Linked DNA regions of Homo sapiens: all the other regions are linked to region 3. The links are contacts of gene promoters, found by promoter capture Hi-C in blood cells and fetal thymus (Javierre and others, 2016). All regions are on one chromosome and are shown on one strand. Each heading gives the region's core, a stretch centred on a gene start or on the middle of the fragment in contact. The rest is flanking DNA. Distances are from core to core; before and after follow the strand shown.

Region 1 (2,804 bases), core at 52-2,551, 400 kb before region 3:
CATTTACAAGCCTATAATGATCTTCCCCATTTTACAGATGAGGAAACTGAGGCACAGGGAGATTTTTTTTTATACATGTATATATCTCTCACTAGCGCATGTGAGAGAGCTGGGACTAGGGCATAGACAACCTGGCTCCACTTATTCATTTGTTCAACAAACATTTGTGGAGCACCTACCAAGGGCCAGATTCCAGGGCTCTCTGCCACTGTTCTGCCTCTAACTTCTACTTTAGTAACAACAGACACTTCACCGATCAGCTGCTTTATCAGGGTTTGAGTTTAGAGTGAATCAAGGGACCAAATGAGAGAGAACAGTTGGCAAGAGAGTGAGACATGGAAATTTTAAGGATAAAAAAAATGGCAAGAGGAGTTCAAGGCTGTAGTGAGCTATGATCATGCCACTACACTCCAGCCTGGGTAACACAGCAAGACCCCATCTCTAAAAAAAGTAAAAAATAGGCTGAGCACAGTGGCCCATGCCTGTAATCCCAGCACTTTAGGAGGCCAAGGCAGGTGGATCATCTTAGGTCAGGAGTTTGAGACCAGCCTGGCCAATATTGTGAAACCCCATCTCTACTAAAAATACAAAAATTAGCTGGGCATGGTGATGGGTGCCTGTAATCCTAGCTACTTGGGAGGCTGAGGCATGAGAATCGCTTGAACCCAGGAGGCGGAGGTTGCAGTGAGCCCAGATTGTGCCATTGCATTCCAGCCTGGGCGACAAAGTGAAACTCTGTCTTAAAAAAAAAAAAAGTTAAAAAAAAAAACAAAAACGGCAAGAGAATAAACAAATGGAGGCCATGTGATCAGGATTTTCTGTAAAAATATCTCCTGAAGAGCTCTACATTGGCTATGTGGGCCATCTCAAACCTGCAGAAGAGAATGCAGGGCCGAGTGGAAAGGACGTGAGTGGGATGGGAGATGAGATTCCATGTTGCCTGCAAGTTCTGTCTTGTTCACCTGGAGATAGCACCCACGCCACCATGTTACTGGGTTTGTGCCTTCCATTCCTTCCTTTGGATTTTTCTCTTTTTCCGTCTAGCAAATTTATTTCATTTCACTCCTCTCAATATTATCTTCATGTTTATTTTGAGTAACACAGTTTTTTTTCCTGAAATGCCTTCCACTGCTGTCCGAAACAGAGAGCAAATATGAGCGATCGGAATATTTTAAAAGGACAAATAACGTCATTGTTGAGGAATGGCCGAGCCTGCCATGCTGAGGATGAGTGGGTAAGCAACTGGAATGGTAGGCAGGGGAGGGGGCGGTGAGAATAACACAAAGCCCCATGGAAGTGAGTTGAGGGGAACTCCTTTACAACAATTAACATGTAGATTTGCTTCACTAACAAGTTCACAATAGATTTAATTAAGCTGGAAATCAATTTCACCCCATACCCATATCATACTTTCAAACTCTCCCAACAACTCTACTGTCAAGTCTGATCACTTCTTCACAAATGCAAAAAAGCTCAGGCAAAATGGGTCTGAAATTTGTGCAGGTAGCTTTGAATTTAACCTTTCTTGCCTTTTTTAGGGGGAAAGACCAAGATCAGATACTATTTAAAAATGGCTACAAGGTTTTTCATAAAGTAACAAATGATCAACCTTCAAAATTAAAGAATAAAATCTCTGTTCTTCCCAGCCCAAACACTGGTCTCTATTTTGTCCTTGAATATAATTTCTTTTTTTTCTCTAGTCAGGGCCTGCCCAGATACAGATAATGAAAGCACCTAGATGGAAGAGACTTCGTAGTTTATTATTTTCTCCAAAGACATTACTACTATAAACTGCTTTCTAGTGATGTCATGATAAAAGGGGGAGAGATGGAAACAGACCTTGTTTGCACACAGTTTGATGAGTCCTTAAAGAAATATTTCCTATAAAGACAAAAAATTAGGGGGAACAAACAAGTTAGCCAGAACTCTCAGGTAGAACATCATCCTGTCCAAAAGGCTAAACTATATAACTGTTTCTGCTAATTACTCTCTTCTGAGTGATTACTCTCTGAGTAATTAGCAGAAACAGTTATATAGTTTAACTTTGGGGATTTAAAAAGTGATAATGTTTTTATTCCATCAACTTTAAATTCTTCAATATGGCACTGAAGGTCTCCCAACTATCACCCACCCTCCCATTGGCCAACCGAACCAACCTAACTTTTCATTATTCATTTAGGTTATTAACCTTTTCAGAGCAGAAATCCCCTTTTAGACACTGATGAAAGTTATGGACTGTCTCACTTGAAAAAGGCACACGCACATAATATTTTATATATAGTTTCAGCGTTCATAGATCCCCCTAAACCTGAGCCTGAGGTCAGGGAGCCCTGTTCTAGATAGATAGATAGATCTCCTTCTAACCCAAAACAAAGTTCTTGATTTCTTTGGACATGACAGTATCTTTGCTTGGATCAACCTTTCCTTTCCACCAGCCCACATCCTTTTGGTCCCTTAAAATTTAGAAGGAATTCTATCATTTATCTCAACGGACGTGTTGAAGGACCTTGCCAGCTGTTATCTGACAGCACTTTATATCTGTCTCTTGTGGTCTTTGGACATGTTACTTACCAACCTTTTCATCTGTGCCTGACTTAATTTCATCAATTAAACAGTATGTTCCTGGAAGGCAAGCACTAGATCCAGGCACTACGAAGCTTCTCTTGCTCACCTCTGCAGCCTATGCACCCAGCACAAGGTCTAACACATAGCAAAAACTTAATCATACCACATTTGTTGAAATGGTGTCTGTGGTGTTTGCTTTCTTTTCGAATTTCCCTCAGAGCCTAGCATAATGTTATATT
Region 2 (2,921 bases), core at 120-2,619, 280 kb before region 3:
TTTGCTAGGATTTTGTATTTTTAACACCCATGCACATTTATGGGAATTCATTAGAGGGGGAAGCCTGGATTTAAAATTTCCCTCCATGAAACAGTTAAAGATCAAGAGGTGAATCGTGTGGGATATGAAGCATGTCATGGCTGAGCTGCTGACGAGGCCTCGGCTGTGCTTTGCATCATGTAAGGGCTCAGCACCCTGAGAAGGTGCCTGGTAAATGCCACTGGCTGATCGGACGGCAGTTCTCGGAAGGCCTGCTGATCAGAAACAGAGCCTTTGGCAGAATCTCAATGGCAAAGTCACAAACAGTAACAGTCCCTAAAATAACAACTGCAACCTCAGCAAAATGAAAACCTTCTATGTGGGAGGTATAATGGGAAATGTATTGATTGGTATTTTTCTCCAGATACATGAATAGTGATCACAAGTAGAGATGCTCCCCTTTTCTACAAAGGAAAAGGTGTAAAACATTGGTTTTACAATGTAGGAAAACCAATAAAATGGTGGTATAAAACATTGATCACCATCAGCAGATTCTTCTAGCAAGAATGGCAGTTCAAGCCAATAGATATGTTTCATGAATTTTGTGGTTGCAAGTGGCTGGAATGGAATGAAAATCAGCTTTCACGAATCCATTCTCTCATTCTTCTCATTTTAATGAGCACCTACTGCATGCTAGGCATTGTTCTAGGTATGTGCAGGATATCAGCGAGCCTAGCCAAGATTAAATTCTCTCTGCTCAGATACAGAAAATAAGGGATACACATCATACAAAAATACATAATATGTTAGAAAGTGGAAAAAGTAAGTAGAAAAAAGAAAAAGTACAGCAGCAAGGGAAATTCAAGAGTGCCAGGCCGGGCGCGGTGGCTCACGCCTGTAATCCCGGCACTTTGGGAGTCCAAGGTGGGCGGATCACGAGGTCAGGAGATCGAGACCATCCTGGCTAACACGGTGAAACCCCGTCTCTACTAAAAATACAAAAAATTAGCCGGGCGTGGTGGTGGGCGCTACACGGGAAGCTGAGGCAGGAGAATGGCGTGAACCCGGGAGGCGGAGCTTGCAGTGAGCCAAGATCGCGCCACTGCACTCCAGCCTGGGTGACAGAGCGAGACTCCGTCTCAAAAAAAAAAAAAAAAAAAGAGTGCCAAAAAATGGTGGGCATGGAGCAGGGGCATTAGGTGGGCAGAGGCAGCTCTGCTGAGATGGTGATAAGTGAACAGAGTCCTGGAGCAGAAAACCAGTGGATGATGGGGGAAGAGCATTCCGGGTAAAGGAGGTAGGAGGGCCCCAGAATGGAGCCTGCCAAGCTGGATCTGGGCCTATGGTTGCTGCAGGGTGGAGTGAGGGCAGGGTCTTGCGGGCTTTCACTTTGGGCGGGAAGGGGAGTCTGCGCAGGGTCCTGAGCAGAGGAGTGAACTGACCTACAGATAATTTTTAAAAAGCATTCACTTTGCTGCTGTGTTGGAAATAGAGGGTAGGGGCATGGGCAGGGTGGAAGTCAGGAGGCTTGTGGGGGGTTATCCTTAGGTCCCAATGAGACACAGTGAAGGGCTGATCACCAGCCTCCAACTTCTGGGCTCAAGCAATCCTCCCGCCTTAGCTTTCTGAGTAGCTAGGCCTTCTGGTGCACATCATGCCCTGCTAATTTTTCTATTTTTTTGTAGAGATGGCATCTCGCTATGTTGCCCAAGCTGGCCTTGAACTCCAGGCCTCAAGCAATCCTCCTGCCTCAGCCTCCCAAAGTGCTGGGATTACAGGCATGAACCACTGCATCTTGCCAGTTTATTTTATTATTATCATTTATTTACTTATTTTGTATTTTTTTTTAGAGACAGGGTCTCACTCTGTTGCCAGGCTGGAGTTCAGTGGTACAATCGTAGCTCACTGCAGCCTCCAACTCCTGGGCTCAAGCCATCCTCCCACCTCAGCCTCACAAGTAGCTGGGACTACAGGCACATGCCACCATGCCCAGCTATTCTTTTGTTGTTGTTGTTGTTTTGTAGAGAAAGGGGTCTTACTGTGTTGCCCAGGCTGATGTTGAACTCCTGGCCTCAAGCAATCCTCCTACCTTGGCTTTCCAAAGTGCTTGGATTACAGATGTGAGCCACTGTGTCCAGCCATTTTTTAGTAAAACTTAAATATAAACCAAAAGTAGGTAGAATAGTCTAATGATCCCTCATGCACATGGTCCCTGTCCCTCTTACTAACTCATAGTCAAAATTGTTTCTTCCTCATGCCTATCTGCTTGCCTTCCCTAACCTCAGAATATTTTTAAATGAATTCCAGACATCATATTATTTTTCCCACAAATATTTCAGCATGTAATACTAAAGAATAAGGACTTTTCAAAAAAAAAAACCCCACAATGCCATTATCATACTAAAAAAAATTTAACATTAATAACATTAGCTAGTCAGTCAGCATTCAAATTTCCCCCATTGTCTCATCAATGAATGTTTGGATCAGGATCCGATTAAGTTTGACCCATTCCATTTGGTTCAGAATTTCCTTTTGAAGCGTCTCTGTAGATGATTTATCTAAAGCCATTAGCAGCCACACACTCAGTTCCGTGTTCCTCATCATCTACACGTCGCGCTCCTTTCTGTGTCTTTCCCAGAGCAGTGGCCTCTCTTGTCACTGTAACACTTTCACTTCTTTAATTCACTACCTCGAAGTACCAAAGTGACTTTAGCGCCCCAAGTATTCTGGAGTCATTGTGAAAGCTGCAGATGTGGTTTAAGTGTGTTTGGCTTTTGAAAACCCCCAAAAATTTAGATACGCAGCAAAATTCATGGTTCCCTCCCTCTCTCGTTCTCTCATTTAGAGAGAAGAGACACTTTCTCCTATAGTTTTCTCCATACAGGCTTTGGTCTTTGATTTTTATTATTTATTGACTTTTATTTATTTATTTATTTACTTAT
Region 3 (2,935 bases), core at 354-2,853:
AAGGTTACTCTGGGTCCCCTTGGCCAAAAGGGAGTCCGTTCAGTCAGCTGGGGGGCTTAGTACTTAGTTTGTATTTCTCTTGCCTCATTTTTAGGATTTGTAAGATGCTGAAGATAATTGCGTCTCTTTCATAGTGTTGCAGTGAGGATGAAATGAGATGATTCAGATAAAGTGCCAGAACATTAATTCATTTAAATAAATACTTACTGAGCATATATGCCCCATGCATCAGGCCCCTGATGATACAGCAGTAAGTACAACTGATTGAAAGGAAATGAAAACTGCCCCCTTGGATCTTTTAATTCTATATAATGAATAATAACAACGAATCTCTGGCACATAGGAGTGCTATGTATTATCTCTGTTACAAAGCAATATCCTAAGACAAGTTTTATGGTCCTAACCTAAATTATTTCTATATATATATATTTTTGAGACAGAGTTTCGCTCTTGTCGCCCAGGCTGGAGTGCAATGGCATGATCTCAGCTCACTGCAACCTCTGCCTCCCGGGTTCAAGCTATTCTCCTGCCTCAACCTCCCAAGTAGTTGGGATTACAGGCACCTGCCATCACACCTGGCTAAGTTTTGTATTTTTAGTAGAGACGGGGTTTCACCACGTTGGCTAGTCTGGTCTTGAACTCCTGACCTCAGGTGATCCACCCGCTTCGGCCTCCCAAAGTGCTGGGATGACAGACATGAGCCACCGCGCCTGGCCTATTTCTATAATTTTTACTGTAATAAAAGAATAATACTCCACAAATACTTACAGTGATAATGCCTACGGCATAAAGACACAATCCAGGGTAAGCCATTCATTGAGAGGTCACCAGAAACTGGGAAGTTGGGGAAACAAATTTGAAAAAAAGGTCTGCTGATGAAAGTGACTGCATTTACCACACACTTTCGTCCAAGAAAAGCTATGTGAGTACGCCAACGCCGGCCTGAAATCTTCCTAAGAATGCGTGCTTATAGCCTATTTGTTTAAACAGGGGGAGAAAGTTAACATTCAAACACCAGAGATTCTGAATATATTTTATTAGTTCAAATGCCTCTACAGTTAACAGAGTCTCGGGGGTTTGGTTAACAGGGCAGATGAAAGCAGTTCATGAAACAGTGGAAAATATAACCTGATCAAGTCTGATGCAGTCTATAAAGGCAAGGCCCCAGCCTCCGTTGCTACGGCAACCGACTCCGCCCCCACCCGGAGAGGGAACCTGAAACTTGGCGACCCCAGCACCCCAGCGGGGTGGTCGCCTCCCTTCCGTGTCCGCGGCTTTGTTTTTTATGGTTGGGAATAGGTAAGGGACACAAGTCAAGGGGGATGCTAGATTCGTCCCCTCTGGTCTCCGTAGAGGGAGCTATAAAAGGTTCGTCCACAAGCAGAAACCCCTCTGTGGCGCCTCAACGTTAAGGACCCCCACGATTCCCTTTGCCCGGCGGGAGACTAAAGGCCGGAAAAGTACAGCCCGCCCAGGGGTGGGAGCCGAGCTAGCCCCACCTCCCGGTGGCTTCTCGCGATCGTGGAGACGCAGCGAGCCTATGTAACTTCCGGTCGCGACCCATCAGCTCCTCGGCGATTGGTCCGTTTCCACGGCCGGCTGGGTGACGTTATCGCCGGGTCCTGGGGCTGCACGTGTGGTGAGGCCTACAGAAGCGGCCTTCAGCTGGACCTTGGTCTCCCCGCCGGACTTCGAGGGTGTCATCGCCGCCCCTGTTGGGGGTGAGCGCCGCGCGGCTGCAGCATGGTGAGCAAGCCTTGCTTGTTTCGGCGGCCGAGCGCTGTGGTTTTGCAGAGGCCAGGCTGCTTCCGGTAATACCTTGGCTACTGCGGCCCGGGTCTGGGTCATGCCAGAGGCTGCTTGCGGCACGGTACCCCGAAATGGGCCAACGTCACCACCGTGGGCATTCTTTGCAAGTTACAGTCTCCCACCGCCGAGCCTCCCTGGGATGTGGCCCGGAGAGGAGAATGGCCTTTTTGTTTTATCCCTGGGAGCCTGCAGCCCTGCGTGATTTCGGTTAACTAAAAGCTGGTGACTGCCGACACAAACGCGCAACCCTGTGCTTCTTGGGGTCGAGCAGAGGGAGCTGCTGGTCTCCCTCAGCGTTGGAGTGGCAGGTGTCTGCCTGTCTGTTTCCTCTGAGAAAGGGAACTTGTGGGAGAGCATAAGGTTGGGCCCAAAGTAAAGCCACTTAATTGGTTTCCCAGTTTAGAGAATCAAAATTGAATAGCGAAGTAAGAATGTAGAAAGAGGTGATGGATCTTATTAAACTTTAGCTGTTTGTGTCGTGATTTTATTTACTGGTTGGTAGATGCTCTGTGTGGAGCTGTCTACTCCAGATTATGTTGTGGCAGGCTTCTTGTCATTCTAGTTCAGTCGGCCAGGGGCCTTCCCTGAGCAGCCAGTGTAAAGTAGCTTTTAAGGCATTTTCACGTCACTGTCTTATATTTTCTTCACCGGAAATTATCTTGATTTTCTTGCTAAGAACAGGGACTTTATCTGACTTTCCCACTTCTGTATTCTCAGTTCCCATAACAAGGTCTGGCACAAAGTAGGTGCTCAAGGAATGTTTGTTGAAGGAAGGTTAAGTATGGATTCTGCAGAACACAGCTGATGTTGCCTGCCCTAGAAGTGTAGATTTTTAAAAAGTATCTTTAACATGACTACTAAAGATGCATGTGTGGACTATGGAATTATTCTCCGTCTTTTTGTTCTGTTTTAATTAATTGTTGTGATTTTGTTCCTTTGAAGCCTCACAGGAAGAAAAAGCCCTTTATAGAGAAGAAGAAAGCTGTGTCTTTTCACTTGGTCCACCGGAGCCAACGAGATCCTTTAGCAGCAGATGAGAGTGCACCCCAGAGGGTTCTATTGCCCACACAAAAAGTAGGTCCTGTTCTTTAGCCAGTCAGTTTGTAGGTAGACAATAGTTTTTTTT

Evidence for each region. The method cuts DNA at HindIII sites, captures the fragments that hold promoters and counts their contacts. A CHiCAGO score of 5 or more calls a contact.
Region 1: a contact is called between a fragment that was not itself captured here and the fragment with the promoter of LTV1 in region 3, in 1 of 17 cell types (erythroblasts). The highest score is 5.1, in erythroblasts.
Region 2: a contact is called between a fragment that was not itself captured here and the fragment with the promoter of LTV1 in region 3, in 7 of 17 cell types (erythroblasts, M1 macrophages, M2 macrophages and 4 more). The highest score is 11.3, in erythroblasts.

What each region holds. Positions count from the first base shown.
Region 1 is chr6:143,443,089-143,445,892 of GRCh38, forward strand. All of the region lies in intron 1 of ADAT2 (adenosine deaminase tRNA specific 2), which reads right to left. Among named protein-coding and RNA genes, the nearest start is that of ADAT2, 6.2 kb to the right of the region's middle. The HindIII fragment of the contact is 2,708 bases long and covers 1-2,655 here.
Region 2 is chr6:143,564,485-143,567,405 of GRCh38, forward strand. The region is part of intron 1 of PHACTR2-AS1 (PHACTR2 antisense RNA 1); the gene reads right to left. It also overlaps a transcript of PHACTR2 not described here. Among named protein-coding and RNA genes, the nearest start is that of PHACTR2-AS1, 3.4 kb to the right of the region's middle. The HindIII fragment of the contact is 5,792 bases long and covers 1-2,921 here.
Region 3 is chr6:143,841,735-143,844,669 of GRCh38, forward strand. LTV1 (LTV1 ribosome biogenesis factor) reads left to right here and starts at 1,604. Exons shown (of 11, transcript NM_032860.5): 1 at 1,604-1,746; 2 at 2,752-2,883. The coding sequence starts at 1,744. RefSeq lists enhancers at 1,408-1,457, 1,638-1,847, 2,038-2,107. The HindIII fragment of the contact is 13,446 bases long and covers 1-2,935 here.